Regions from separate parts of the Homo sapiens genome. Here region 2 is linked to region 1. Evidence: promoter capture Hi-C in 16 types of primary human blood cells and fetal thymus (Javierre and others, 2016). All regions are on one chromosome and are shown on one strand. The core of a region is centred on a gene start or on the middle of the fragment in contact, and the rest is flanking DNA. Distances in the headings are between cores, read along the strand shown.

Region 1 (6,208 bases), core at 3,310-5,809:
GTAATTCCAGCTACTCGGGAGACTGAGGCAGAGAATTGCTTGAACCTGGGAGGTGGAGGTTGCAGTGAGCTGAGATGGTGCCACTGCACTCCAGCCTGGGTGACAGAGCAAGACTCCATCTAAAAAAAAAATCAGGATAGTGTTTTTGTGTGAAGGAGAGGCAAAAAGATGGGCTAGGAAAGGAGCACCCGGGAAGATGTAGGTGTTGGAAATGTTCTAGGTCTTGGGTTCAATAGTGGGTTCATGTGTGTTCATCATGTTATGAATAAATACATGAATTAATAAGTCCCATACTTGGGCTAATGTTGACAATGTGTCATGATCAAGGATTATGATTAATTCAATTCTGATCATTCAATACCTAAATGGAAGACAGAAATAGAGAGGGAGAGAGAGAAGCCAATGGAGCTGGCCTTTCTTCCTTTTTTCCTCCCTCCCTTCCTCCCTGCCTGCCTGTCTTTCTTTTCTTTTCCTTTACCTTTAATTATTCCACAAACATCTACTGTTTGTCGACTGTATACCATGCCCCAGGCTGAGAACTAGGAACACTGGGATGAATCAGACACAGTCCTGCCCTACAGAGTCACCATGTGATGCAAGAGTCTGACAATTCCCCAAATGTTTTCAAGGTGCTATGACAGATGTAAAGCAACAAGGTGTGGTAGGGCTTACAGAAGGGGCCCTTAATCCAGCCTGGGCTATTTGGGAAGACTGTGGAGCTTTCTGCTTTGAGAAATTAGCAAGAAGAAAATGTGGTTGGGGGTGTAACAGCTATAAAAATGAAAAAGACAGCCTTGCCCTTGAAGTGCTCATATCTTGGGGTGAGGGACAAGAAAGGAGGTCACAACAGTGGGACTTGGGGTTGTGAGAGAGGCAAGCACAGGCTTGAGATGCACATAGGAGGGCACCGTGCTGTGCCTGCAGTGTTGGGAAGGCTTCCTGGAGGAGATGACATGTATACAAGCAGAGAGACGAAGTATGAATTAGAGTTACCTGGAAAGTCTGTACCAGGAAGAAAGGTAAGCACCTACAATGGCCTGTGGCAGGGAGAAAGAGCATGGAGGAGCTCAGGGGGCCCCAGTGTGGCCTGGCCCAGAGCGCAAATGAGAGGAGGTGAAACTAGATGAGTAGGCAGGGAGCCAGATTCCATGAAAAAGCATGAAAATTATGCTGTGGACCATGGGGTACCTCTGAAGGGAGTGGCAAGGGTGATTTTTCCTTCATGAAGAGAGCCCAGCAGTAGAGGTGAGGGGGCCGCTATAACTGCTAGGGAAAGAGATGGTGATGCTTGGGCTGTAAAGAGGAACAGAATTTGAGAGCTGAGCACCTGATGGACAATGCTGCATGGCAGGCTGGGCTCAAACAGGGTTGCTCCTGAGGGGTGGGCAGAGGACATTCAAACCTCACACAACACAGTTCTGTCTTGCCACAGACCTCCTTGGAGCAAGCTGCAAGCTCCAAAATTTCTCAGAACTGAAAGTTTTTCCTCCAACTTCTGTAAAACCATGGTTAATACTTTTACAAGACAGAGAAGGAGTCCGAGATTTCAATAGCTAAAAACTGGGAAGTAGACCGAATACCATTCCTTGTGGGAGCAAAGGCAGGAGGAGTGAGGTTCAGAGCTTTGCTTTATCCAAGGGGTTCTGGACCCCTGACTGCAGCAGCTCCCTACTGGACCTTCTGCCCCAGGCATTACTTTGCCTTAGTCCAAGAATCCCACGAATGCTACAGATCTTGGTCTACTCCTGAGAAGTAGAAGGAAAAAGATTTATTGTGCACCGACTACACGACAAGCTACAACCCACAACTGTACTCTAGGGACATTCTTCTGTTCCTGTTTAGAAATGAGAAAGCTAGGACCCAAAGGCTTGGAATTGAGATTTAAGCCCAGAGCTGTCTGACTATGCCCATGCAATACTGTACATTCTTTAGAGCAATACTGTGGCTAGTTTTTCACGGTTGCATTTTTAGACTCACTCTTGGACAGTTAAGAACATCTTGCATTAGTTACCTACTGCTGAATAACAAATTACTCCAACATTTAGCTGATTAAAACAACAAACATTTATTATCTTACAGTTTCCATGCATCAGAAATCTAAGCACAGGTAGTTGGTTTCGGTGATTCACGATCTCTCATGAGGTTGCAGTCAAGGCATCACACAGGGCTGTATTGTCCTATGAAGGGCTCAGCTCGGCGGGGCAGAGATCTGCTCCCAAGTTCACTCATGTGGTTATCGGTAGGTCTCAGTCACTCACCATATGGGCCTCTCTCCACAGTGCCACTGCAGGATATAGCAGCTGGCTTCTCCAGAGAGGTGATCCCAAAAGAGAGCAAGAGTGTATGCTCAAAACAGAAGCCACAGTCTTCTTATAACCTAATATTGGAAGGAACATCCCATTACCTCTGCTGTATTCTGTTAGTGAGAAGCAAGTCAGTAAGTCTAGCCCACACTTTAAGGGAAAGGGTTTACACAAGGGAGTATATACCAGGAGTCAGGGATCACTGGGGGCCATTTAGAAGCTGCTGATCTCAATCTAAAGAATTTTAGTAGCCAGGCTATCCTGGCTTCTCCCCAAATGGCAAGTTGTTTCCCTTGTTATCCAGAGGCTGGAGGATTTGGGGGTCTACAGGGACACAAGGGGGCCCTGTTTTGGCCCACTCCTTTGTGCCTGGGGCATAATCTCATTGGGAAAGGCCAGTGTGGTGAACCTAACTGGAGCCCCCAAGGGAGGGGGGGAGTTGTTTTCTCAAATTGTGGCCACTGCTCCCTCCCTCCCTTATCCTTGAAGCTACTGTGATGCTTCCCAGCACCGAGTGGAAGCAACGGGCATCCTCCACACACACACCCAGCCTGTCAGCCAGATGGGTAGAGAAACCATCAGCATGAACGTCTGCTTTAAACTTTCCTTTGCTTCTGAGCTTCTTTCCACAAATTTTCTTTTCTTGCTCCCCAACCACATCCATAACCCCCACAGTAGCTCACAGTAGAGGTGCTCCAGGAGCTTGTCAATAGGAGGTAGGAAGGAAAGACACCAAGTGTGAATGTAGGTCAGCACTGCCACTTAGGGCAGTTCAAATCACATTCACTGTCCTCAGCATCTATCCTATGCTGGTGCAGGGCATCCAGAGATGTGTGAGGTACCTATACTTGCCCTCCAGGGGGGGCTCACAGTTTTAGGAGGGGCAGACATGCAAACAGACAGTGATGAAACGTTAGAATAAGTACAATAAATACGTGTCAATACACACTTTTGTCACCTCATCATGGTTATCTTGGTTCATAAAGCATCATCTTATGCTTAGACTATTACAGTAGCTGCCAACCTGGTTTCCTCCATCCATCCATCCAGTTGGCTGCTAAGAGGTCTTTCTGGAATGCAAATCCGACAAGGTCACTACCCTGGTTAAAGGCCTCCCAAAGTGATGGGGAAGGTCAAGCTCTTGATACAGTCTCCACCCAAGACCCTAGACACCGTCCATCCCTCCAGTTCCGTCATACCCCCTCTGCTCATAGCACAGGCTCTGTGCTGTGATAGGTAGCTCTCCAGGTGACCATGTTGTACCCCTGCCTCCAGGAGCTAATTCATGTAGACACATTTACTAGGAAACATTCCCAGTTGCCCTTTCCAGTCTGACAAATTCGCCCCAGAACCTCTCTCAAAACGTTTCCTTCATAGAGTTGGATTGTCTTTACTTGTTTTCCATGTCCTTGATGAAATGCGCACTCTGCATCTAGACTCTGTCTGCATCTAGACTCTGTCTGCATCTAGACTCTGCCTGGTACCTGGCACAGAGAGGGATTGGGTTAGCAAATGACTGCGTAATGGACCTAAAGTCAATTCTGGGAGCACAGACGAGGGCCACCAAACCAAGAACTTTCAATTTCCCCAAGGAAGCGCAGATACCAGAAGCACCCTCGAGGCTTCTGTTTTGGCCACGCCCTTTACCCCATCGCTCAGTTCAGGCTCCCAATGAGGCGGCCCACCATCAGCGCTGGTAGAGCAAAGAGACCGACTTCCTGCGCCTCGGGTGGGCGGGGAACGCTCCTTGAGCAGGTGCGGTATGAAATTGGACTTTAAGAGATGAGTTGGAGCCTGATCTCAAAAATAAAGTGTGGACGTGTGTGTCTGAGGAAGGGGGATAATAAACCACCCTTTTTTCCTCCTGGCTGCTATTTCCCACGTGCGTTGAGTAAAGGCACCAAAGCTGCCTAGTGACTGGGTGTCTCCTCCCCGTCAGGGGCACCCACCCTGGCGCTCCAGGAGCGCTTGAATGAATCCGGGAGGACCCGCGCGCAGGAATGAATGCGAGAGCTAGGGAGTGAGCGGGCGAGTGGGCGGGTGAGTGAATGGCGACCGCGCCGCCGCCTTGGCACAGGGGCGCGGGCGCGGGCTCCACTTCCCTCTCCCGCCAGCTGGTGGCCTCGAGAAGGTGGCGGCGCCGGCAGCGGCCCGAGCTGGGACGGCCGGGGCGCGGGATGGTGGGGGAAGGGGCGTTCCCGGCGACCGCGCCTTCCGCGGCTATTGGATTAGTGGCCTTCAGGGATGAGCTCAGCCAGATCGGCTTTCAGCTGCAGCCTCCGGGCCGGCCGGGAAGGCGGGGAGCGGGCGGCGGCGGCGGAGGAGGGGGAGGCGGCGGCGGCTGCAGCATCCAGAGCTGGCCGTGGCGGCCGGCGCGCCCCGCGCACAAAAGCACCCAGCCCCAGGGGAGGGCGATGAACACACCACATCCCGGGCCCGGGCCCCAGCTGCTGCTACCGCTGCGTGCGCTCAGGGCGCTGGGGAAGACGCCCGGCGCGCCGGGGGCCAGCGGCCGAGGCGCGGCCCGTGCGCCCTGAGCGCGGGACTCGTCGCCCTCCGGGTCAGGCGCCAAGCTTCCAAGCGGCTAGAGCGCGGGCCTTGGAGCGCCCCCAGGATCGCTTCAGTAAGGCGCTTCCCCACTCCAGGCCCGACCCCCGGCGCCTGAGCGCCAACTTCGCCAAGAACGCTCCTAACTCCAGGCCATCCTGCAGCGCAGAGGGGGCGCTGCTGCCGGGCATCAGCCGTGAGGACGCGCCCCTGGCCGTGCGGAGAGAGCCGGCATTTGCGGGTCACTCGGGCGCCCCTGAGTGGGCGGCGGCGGCAGCAGACCCCTCTCCAGGGAGTCCAGGACCTGCCAGCGCTGGGGATTCTTCCCGAACAGGCGCTTGCCCTCTCTTTTATGGTAAGTACTCTCCAGCTCCTGGTGAGGGGCGCGCGGGGGCCGGGAGCCGAGATCCGGCTGCACGGACTTTGTGCGGGCCAGCACTCGACACAGCTGGCGCTCCTGACGTCCCAGTCCCTGAGAATTCCTCTCTGCAGGTTGTGGCAGTTCGAGATGGTTGATTTGCGCGCAGCCCTGGGGCGTTTGGGGCCCGGCCTTTGGTATCATGGGTTCTAAGCCCTTTGCTTCTCTGCGTAGCGGACAACGCACAAAAAACTGCCATCCGATTCACCCGCTTTGGTTTGGATCCAGGATCCGTCACTCACTGGCTGAGTGACCTTGGACAGGGCGCCAAACCTGTTTCCTCATCCGTAGGATGGGAATGATAATTGTGCACATTTTATAGGGGTATTGGAAAGATCTATGGGATGGTGTTCGTAGGTAGACATGTGCTGGGCACACAGGAAACACTCAATCATATGTTAGCTAGTATTATTATTAGCTTTGCGAGCCCAAGCTTGTTATCCAACTTTCCGAAGCTGCAGCAGTTCCGTCGTCCGTGTAATGGGGACAATAATTCCTGGGGGTCTGTTCGTCCGGGGTATTCGGAGAGGTGGAAGTAAAGCACGGGTCACGCAATAGGCACCGGTGGCTGTTGTTACCGTTTATTCCTGACTCTGGGGCAGTGAGGCTGGTCGCCTGGCCCGAGAGCGACTCAGGGACCAGTCCTGGCCTTGCTTGAATACAAACTTGTCTATGCTCGGGAAGGGAGGGGGTTGGGAGCTCAGGAAACCCTAGGCGCAGGGCTCTGGGAAGGAGGGAGGGGGTCAGAGACTTGAGCGCGGCAAATGTGTCCGCCCTGGTCGCTCTGTACGCGCCAGGGGCTCCAAGCCAGAAGGGGACGCCGAGCCCCCGACCTCTGACTGGCGGGAGAACCGGGGGAGTGGCTGCTCCCGCCGGCCCATGGCCAAGCGCAGACGGCTGCCGGCAGGAAGGAGAGGAGGGCACTTTTCTGTACCGCTGT
Region 2 (6,887 bases), core at 656-3,155, 130 kb after region 1:
CTCCTAGCCTTTCTTGAACCTGTCTCCATTTCCAGCCTGTGCTATCTCTCAAAGTGACAGGTTGCCCTTGGGGAAATAGGATATCCTTCTCTGTGTTTTAAAGTTCTCCCAAGTGTCTAGATTTTTGTCATAAGATCCAAGTCCTATTCTACACCTTCTCCATTATTTCACACACTTTGTAAGTCTCTAAGGATGAAAGAGGCAACTTCTTTGTCTCTCTTTCTTAAAAATTACACTCCGCTATTGCTCTAGTTTCTTGATGCTATTTTTTTTCTCACTGCAAAGGAGACCCCTCTTCTTGTGTGCCTGTGCTTGACATCAGGATTTAAATACAACTGCTTGCCTTTGGTATTGTGGCCTCACATTCCAGGCTTCCCTCGTGTCTGATTTCAAAACTGTATCCACTCCAACCACTGAAATGGATTTGCACTTCCACCACAACATTCAAGAGCGAGAAACATTGCATTACTTTCTTTTTTCCTAATTCAAATTCCATCTGGCTCTCAGTCCCTACTTCCCTGGGCAGTGAAACGCCCAACATAACTCACTACTGGGGATACCTTTTCTTCCCTAGGGTCACCCAAGAAGCCAGTGAGTCTCTCACAGTCTTGAAAACTTGGGGAAGGACCTCTCTGGTCTTCAACCTACCACTAAGATTCTCATTGCCCATGTTGTCTGTTTAAAATGGGTGGTGTCACATTTTACACCCTGTATAGGGCACAGTGTTTGTTTGCTGCTACTCCCAACATCACATCCTTTAGGGCCCAGTAACTGACAACTGTGTATAATCCCCTGGAGGCCTTGACACGAAGGTGAGGTGCCATTTTCACCATGTATGGACCTCACCATCACCTTCTCCTCCACCTCCAGGAGTCACCCCAAACACCAGGCACCAGCTTCCACCTCCTCCTCCTCAGGCAGAACCAAGCTTGGGCCCCTAGTGTAGAAGGGCTGTCTTCTGGGTGCCAGGTGCAGCAATCACTCTAGGTGTCTGCTGCTAAGCCCAGAACTCGCCTTTCCAGTGACTAAGCTTCTGCTTGAGGACTTTCATAGCCACAGGGGTGTGCTTGGCTCATTGTGCAAGCCAGAAGTACCTGGAAGTTAACGACCTGGAAGCAACCTCAATCAATGACTTGAGGATAAATACATCAGCTCCTGGTCCCTATGGTGGAACAACACATGGAGCTGTGTTTCACACAACCTCCCAGTGGGATGGAGCCCGAGGTGCCCTTGGCAGTAACCTTCTGGTCAACACACCCTGCATTAGCTGCCCTCCATGCCTGGGCTCACTTCTCCACTCTGCCTACTGTGTGCCTCCTGTGGTCACCTCCCAGATTGCCCACAAACTCTTGTACTAAGGTCTGCTTCAGGGAATCCCAACCTAGGAGCCCTGGTAGCTTCTGTTCTGGGCTCTGAAACCCAAAAGCTATCAACATCTCCAGAGGCAAAGGAGTCCAGACCTAGTCTGCCCTTATCTGTTAAGAAAGAAAAGAGAAGAAAGAAAAATGACCTTTTTCTCCTTCTGGAGTCTCCTCCACAAAGAGGATAAGAGAAATGAACAACACCATATATTTTACCGCCATAGAACAATTACTAACTGAGCACCTACTATGAGGCCAGCCTGGCCCACAGCCATCTGGGGGATAAAGAAGAAAAATGAGAAGGTGCTGATGACCCAGATCTCAGGAGAAGAAAATCAACGTTCTTGGTGTGGGAATGAACAACAGTGGAGCACTGACTCTGAGACACATGTCCTATATTCACATCCTCAGGTATTTGCTGGGAAAATTAGGGCTCAAGGGAATGCAGTGACTTGCTCAAGCTGAAGGTCACCTAATCCAACCATGGTGTGACCACGCCTTGGCCAGCAGGGTCTCTTGCCCTGATATAGGGGGCTCTGGTTGGCAAGGAGAGGACTTTGGCAATGTAGGCCCTACATTTGACAGGACCCAAACAGGGCTTCACTAGGGCTTAGTTTTCAAAACCATGTACTTCAGCTCCACCCAGCCCTTCTAGGGAAGGTGCAATTCAGAGAAGCTGCAACAAACACTCACAAAATGGGTTAATAACAGTATGGCAAACACCAAATTAATTGCCCACTCAAGTAATGCAGTCCATATGGGGGCCCTGGAGAGCAGAGACAATGGGTGGATTCTCTCCCTGTACTCAAGTCAGCAGGAGTCAAAGTCACTGAGATTGAGGATCCAAAGTTCTCCCAGAGCCATGAGTGGTGGCTTCACCTTATTCTGGCCTCCTTGCCTGTAACTTCTATAAAGAGAGTTTTGCAGGGCGTGAAGTCATTGCTGAGACAAAGTAGAGGTTGTGTTTTGTTGCGCTGTGAGCACTTTCTCAAAGAGAGGGTCTGTTTGGAGCTCTGCTTCCCTGGCTTTCCTCTTCTAAAGGCCAAGAGCTTGCAAACACTGCAATGTGAACTATGCATTAAAATTTTATACACTAATATATATTTTACTGAACTTTTTAATAACCCTGGGAGAAATAGCTTTAAATAATTCAATATGGTGTTGGCCCCGAGCTGAACTATGCTACAAGTAACCATGTATAAAATATGACACTAATATTGCATACCTTAATATAATAAATGTTTATCTTGATAATAAGCCATTTGAATTCTAGTAATGTGTGAGTTACAGTTGCTATGGCACAGTCTTGTTAAGGTTTTAAATGAGACATCAACAGCAAAAGCAACATAAATGTACACATTAATCTACTTGCTATTTATAAACGAACCAACTGGACAGTGAATAGCTTATTCATAAATAAAAGCTTTAAATGCCATTTATGAGGCAAGTGAATGACTGGAGGAAGTTTGCGGCCAGTAATGTATGTTTTCCTCAGAGCTACCTTTGGGATTTTATAGAAAGTCCAGCATGAGGACAGAGGTCAGTTTCCCCACCCAACAAGGAGGCCATTGTCAGAGGAAGGAGCCATTGATGCACAGTAGGTGTTCAATAAATTCTTATTGGAAGACTTTAAGTGGCTGCCTCAGGAAGAAGAATTTAAGAATTTGAGTGGTTTCCAAACCTGGCTATGAATCAAAATTACCTGGACGTTGTGTTAAAAATACAGATCTCCAAGTCCCGCCCAGATACAGAGCTAGAATCTTCAGATTTTCAGCCTAGGAATCTCACCCCAAGTCTACAGTCAATTTGCCTTTTAAAAAATTTTAAAAAATTCTACAAGTTTTTTTTATTTTGTTTTGTTTTATTGTTGTTTTGTGAGGGGCTAGGGGTTTGTTTGTTTGTTTGTTTGTTTTTAGAAACAAGGCCCCACTGTGTTGCCCAGGCTGAACTCAAACTCCTGGGCTCAAGCAGTTCTCCCACCTTTGCCTCCCAAGTAGCTGGGATTACAGGTGTGTGCCCTGCACCCAGCTCTATGGGATTTTTAGGGGAGAATCTTAAAGTTGGAAGAAACCCTGGTGATTATCTAATCCAACCTCTAAAATCACATAGCAGGTTTGTGGGCACGCTAGGACCCATCTGCGTTCTGATCCCATACCAATGTCCCAACATTGTTTTCACCAGGCCTGTGTCTCCAAACTGGGGCATGTGTCCACTAGTTGGATTAGTCAGGACTTGAATTTTAGTTACAAGTGGAAATAACCTAAGGCAAATCAATTTAACCAAGAAATTACATGGCTTTAGGTACAGCTAGATCCCAGGATTAAAATGATGTCATTGGGGTTTACCTCTTTCCACCCTTCACTTATGCTTCCTTTGGGTTGGTTCATTCCCAGGCAGTTTCCTCTACTAGCGACCTTGAAATTTCTAGGCTACATCTCAGCGGTTTACCCCCCCAAGCTGAAACAGGCTTTCTCTGTTGCAAGAGTAGCAGCAGACGCCCAAGGGCTGATACTCATTGGTCTGCTTGGGCCACATGTTAATTTTTTTTTTTTTTTGAGGTGGAGTCTCGCTCTGTCGCCCAGGCTAGAGAGCAGTGCCATCTCAGCTCACTCCAACCTCCACTTCCTGGGGTCAAGCGATTCTGCTGCCTCTTCCTTCCCAGTAGCTGGGATTATAAGGCATGCACCACCACAGCCAGCTAATTTTTTGTTTGTTTGTTTTGTTTTTGTTGTTGTTGTTGTTTTTAGTAGAGATGGGGTTTTGCCATATTGGCCAGGCTGGTCTCGAACTCCTGACCTCAGATGATCTACCTGCCTTGGCCTCCCAAAGTGCTGGGATTACAAGTGTGAGCCCCCGTGCCCGGCCCATTTCTGAAGCAAGCATTGCACTCAGAGGAATGTAACCTGAGTTACGGGTATACCTGGGACAGGGCAGGGTCCAGCCATGGACAGAGAGTTGGAGGGGTGGTTCCCCCAGAGAGAAATTGAGCCACTGGTACCAGAAAGGGAATAGAGGCAGGGCAGGAAAAGCAACAGAGCAGCTGTCTCCTCACCAACACTGTGCCAGCCACATGTGAAGTGACAGGTGAATGCAGGCATCTTCTGCAGCTCCCGTCTTACTGACAAAAAGTAGCTTAACACATCAATATTACGTTAAAACAAGCCCAGAAGTAGAGTGCAAAATTCTCATGAATTTTTAAGAGGAAACGAGTAATTTCAAAGAGCCCTCAAGCTTGCAGCAGGCGATGCCAGCTCACCCCAGACTCCCAAGGGCCCGGAGAGGGAGCTCAGTAGGCACATTCACTGGGGGAGTCTGGGAAGCCTGAACTGCAGGGTCTGGCCCTGAAATGATCTGCTGCTTAAATTATTCATTATTTGTTCTTTTGATAAATCTAATATCTCTCCACCCCGGTTGTAATTCCCTCATGGCAGGGCCTGCTCCCTTGCCCCTCCTTGATCTTCCCTTGTGTAGAAGGACCTGAAGGTCCCACTCCCCACTCCAGCCTCAGACACTTTGCCAAGATTGGGTCCTACTGGAGGGCAGACATAGGGTAGTCAATGTGCTCTAAGCCAAGCTAGGGAGAGCTTCAGACTGAAACAGGTTTAGCCTTGGCACTGCCAGACAGGCCAAGCACTGTCACCCCTGGATTCCTTTTCTCTGACTTTAGCAGCTGGGCTGGAGGACATGGGCATGAGGCCATCCATTTGTCCCACTGGCTGATCCTGTTCCTGGCCACTATGATGTGATGAGTATGAGCATCTTTGCCTTCAAGGTGCCCCTAGTCTAAGCAGAGAATGGGGCAGGATCTTGAGCATCAGGACACCATGTGTGGTTGTACAGCTTGAGCACTGCACAAATGTCCCAACTGAGGGGGCCAGTCAGCACTCACTTGCTTATCTGTGAACTCTGGCACAGGGCTATCTGCCCACAGGAAGAGATACAAAACCACCATAGGGCTAAGTGGCAGCTCTAAGGATGTCATGTTCCTAAGACCAGAGTCAGGTCTGAGGAAGAAGCTGGGAAGCGGAGCCATGGGAGTCTGAGGCACCAGCTCCAATACTGGATCCCCAAACCCAGCAATGGGGAGAGGAGGGAGCAATTGTGTGTTAGTAAAAGAGCAGAAACCTTAGTTAGAAGGCAGAAAGAGCCTGGAAACCAAGAGAGACAATGAGAAGTCAGAGGAAGTAGGCAGGTCAGGGAAAAGCTGGGAGAATCTATGAACTGCATATTTACCTCTAACCCATTCCTTGCCCTTCTCCTGCCTGCTCGGTATTGCAGGGAACTGCCTTCCCCAGGCTCTCTAGTTCTCTGACTTCTGGGTAGTGTTATGTGCAAAATCTCTCTTTACTGTTCCAACTCTGGCTACATGCTGTTCCCTTCATCCAGAATATCCTTCTCCACCAGCCTAACTTTTTCAGAACTCAACTTAGGTATCACCTTCTCTAGGAAGTATTTCTACCCACACAGTCTGAATTGTACACATTTTCTTCAAGCCCAACAGCCTCCTGTGCTTCCCTGTTATAACAGACCATATTGTGTTGTTCATCCACTGACATAATCTATTCCCATCCCACCTCACATGGGCTCTGAACTTTCAGAAGGCAGGGTGTCATCTCTCATCTCTGCATCCCCAACATCTAGCACAGAGGAGGGGTCCAATAAATGTTGGTTGGATGCCTACTCTTTATCAAGTGATTTGCATATGTTTTCTCATTGAATAATCACATAACCTGGCATGGCACAAACTGTCATTATCCTTCTCACTTCACAGATGAGTCTAAGTGACTTTCCCAAAGTTGCCCTGTTAAAAGGTAGTTCTTGGCTGGGCATGGTGGCTCTTGTCTGTAATCCTAGCACTTTGGGAGGCCAAGGCAGGCAAATCACCTGAAGTCGGGAGTTCGAGACTAGCCTGGCCAACATGGTGAAACCCCGTCTCTACTAAAAATACAAAAATTAGCCGGGTATGGTGGCACATGCCTGTAATCCCAGCTACCCAAGAGGCTGAGGAAGGAGAATAGTTGGAACCTGGGAGGCAGAGGTTGCAGTGAGAAGAGATCGCACCACTGCACTCCAGCCTAGGTGACAGAGTGAGACTCTGTCTCGAAAAAAAAAAAAGTGGTTCTTGAACCCAAATTCCCCCATGTCCTCAGCCCTTCCCAGCTCCTGAACAGCTTCTCCTACTTGAATGTTTTTCTAAGAGTCTTAGCACAATCCGCCCCTCCCACCCCACCCCAAGATGGATAACACCATTGCTAACCTCAGCCTTGAGATCTATGAGTTTTCTGGAGTTAGAATACTACCTAGGTTTAAATCTCTGTTCTGCTATTTGCTAGGTAACCTTAGGGAAGTTGCTTAATCTCTCCAAACTTTAGCTTCTTTATCTGTAAAATGGGTTCAAAAGAGTCTCTACCTTGTAAAGCTGTGTGAAACTTAAATAAGATGAGATATGCAAAGTCTTAGCATACCACCTGGACCATAGAAAGAATTTTAAAATATCAGCTAGTAGTAATAGAGTAAGTTGATTAA

Evidence for each region. The method cuts DNA at HindIII sites, captures the fragments that hold promoters and counts their contacts. A CHiCAGO score of 5 or more calls a contact.
Region 2: a fragment that was not itself captured here is called in contact with the fragment with the promoter of SPSB4 in region 1 in 3 of 17 cell types (M1 macrophages, M2 macrophages and M0 macrophages); the score reaches 6.2 in M1 macrophages.

Annotation. Positions count from the first base shown.
Region 1 is chr3:141,046,788-141,052,995 of GRCh38, forward strand. It overlaps SPSB4 (splA/ryanodine receptor domain and SOCS box containing 4), which reads left to right and starts at 4,560. Exons shown (of 3, transcript NM_080862.3): 1 at 4,560-5,205. The HindIII fragment of the contact is 5,905 bases long and covers 1-4,874 here.
Region 2 is chr3:141,180,996-141,187,882 of GRCh38, forward strand. No RefSeq gene overlaps it. Among named protein-coding and RNA genes, the nearest start is that of PXYLP1, 47 kb to the right of the region's middle. The HindIII fragment of the contact is 1,754 bases long and covers 1,029-2,782 here.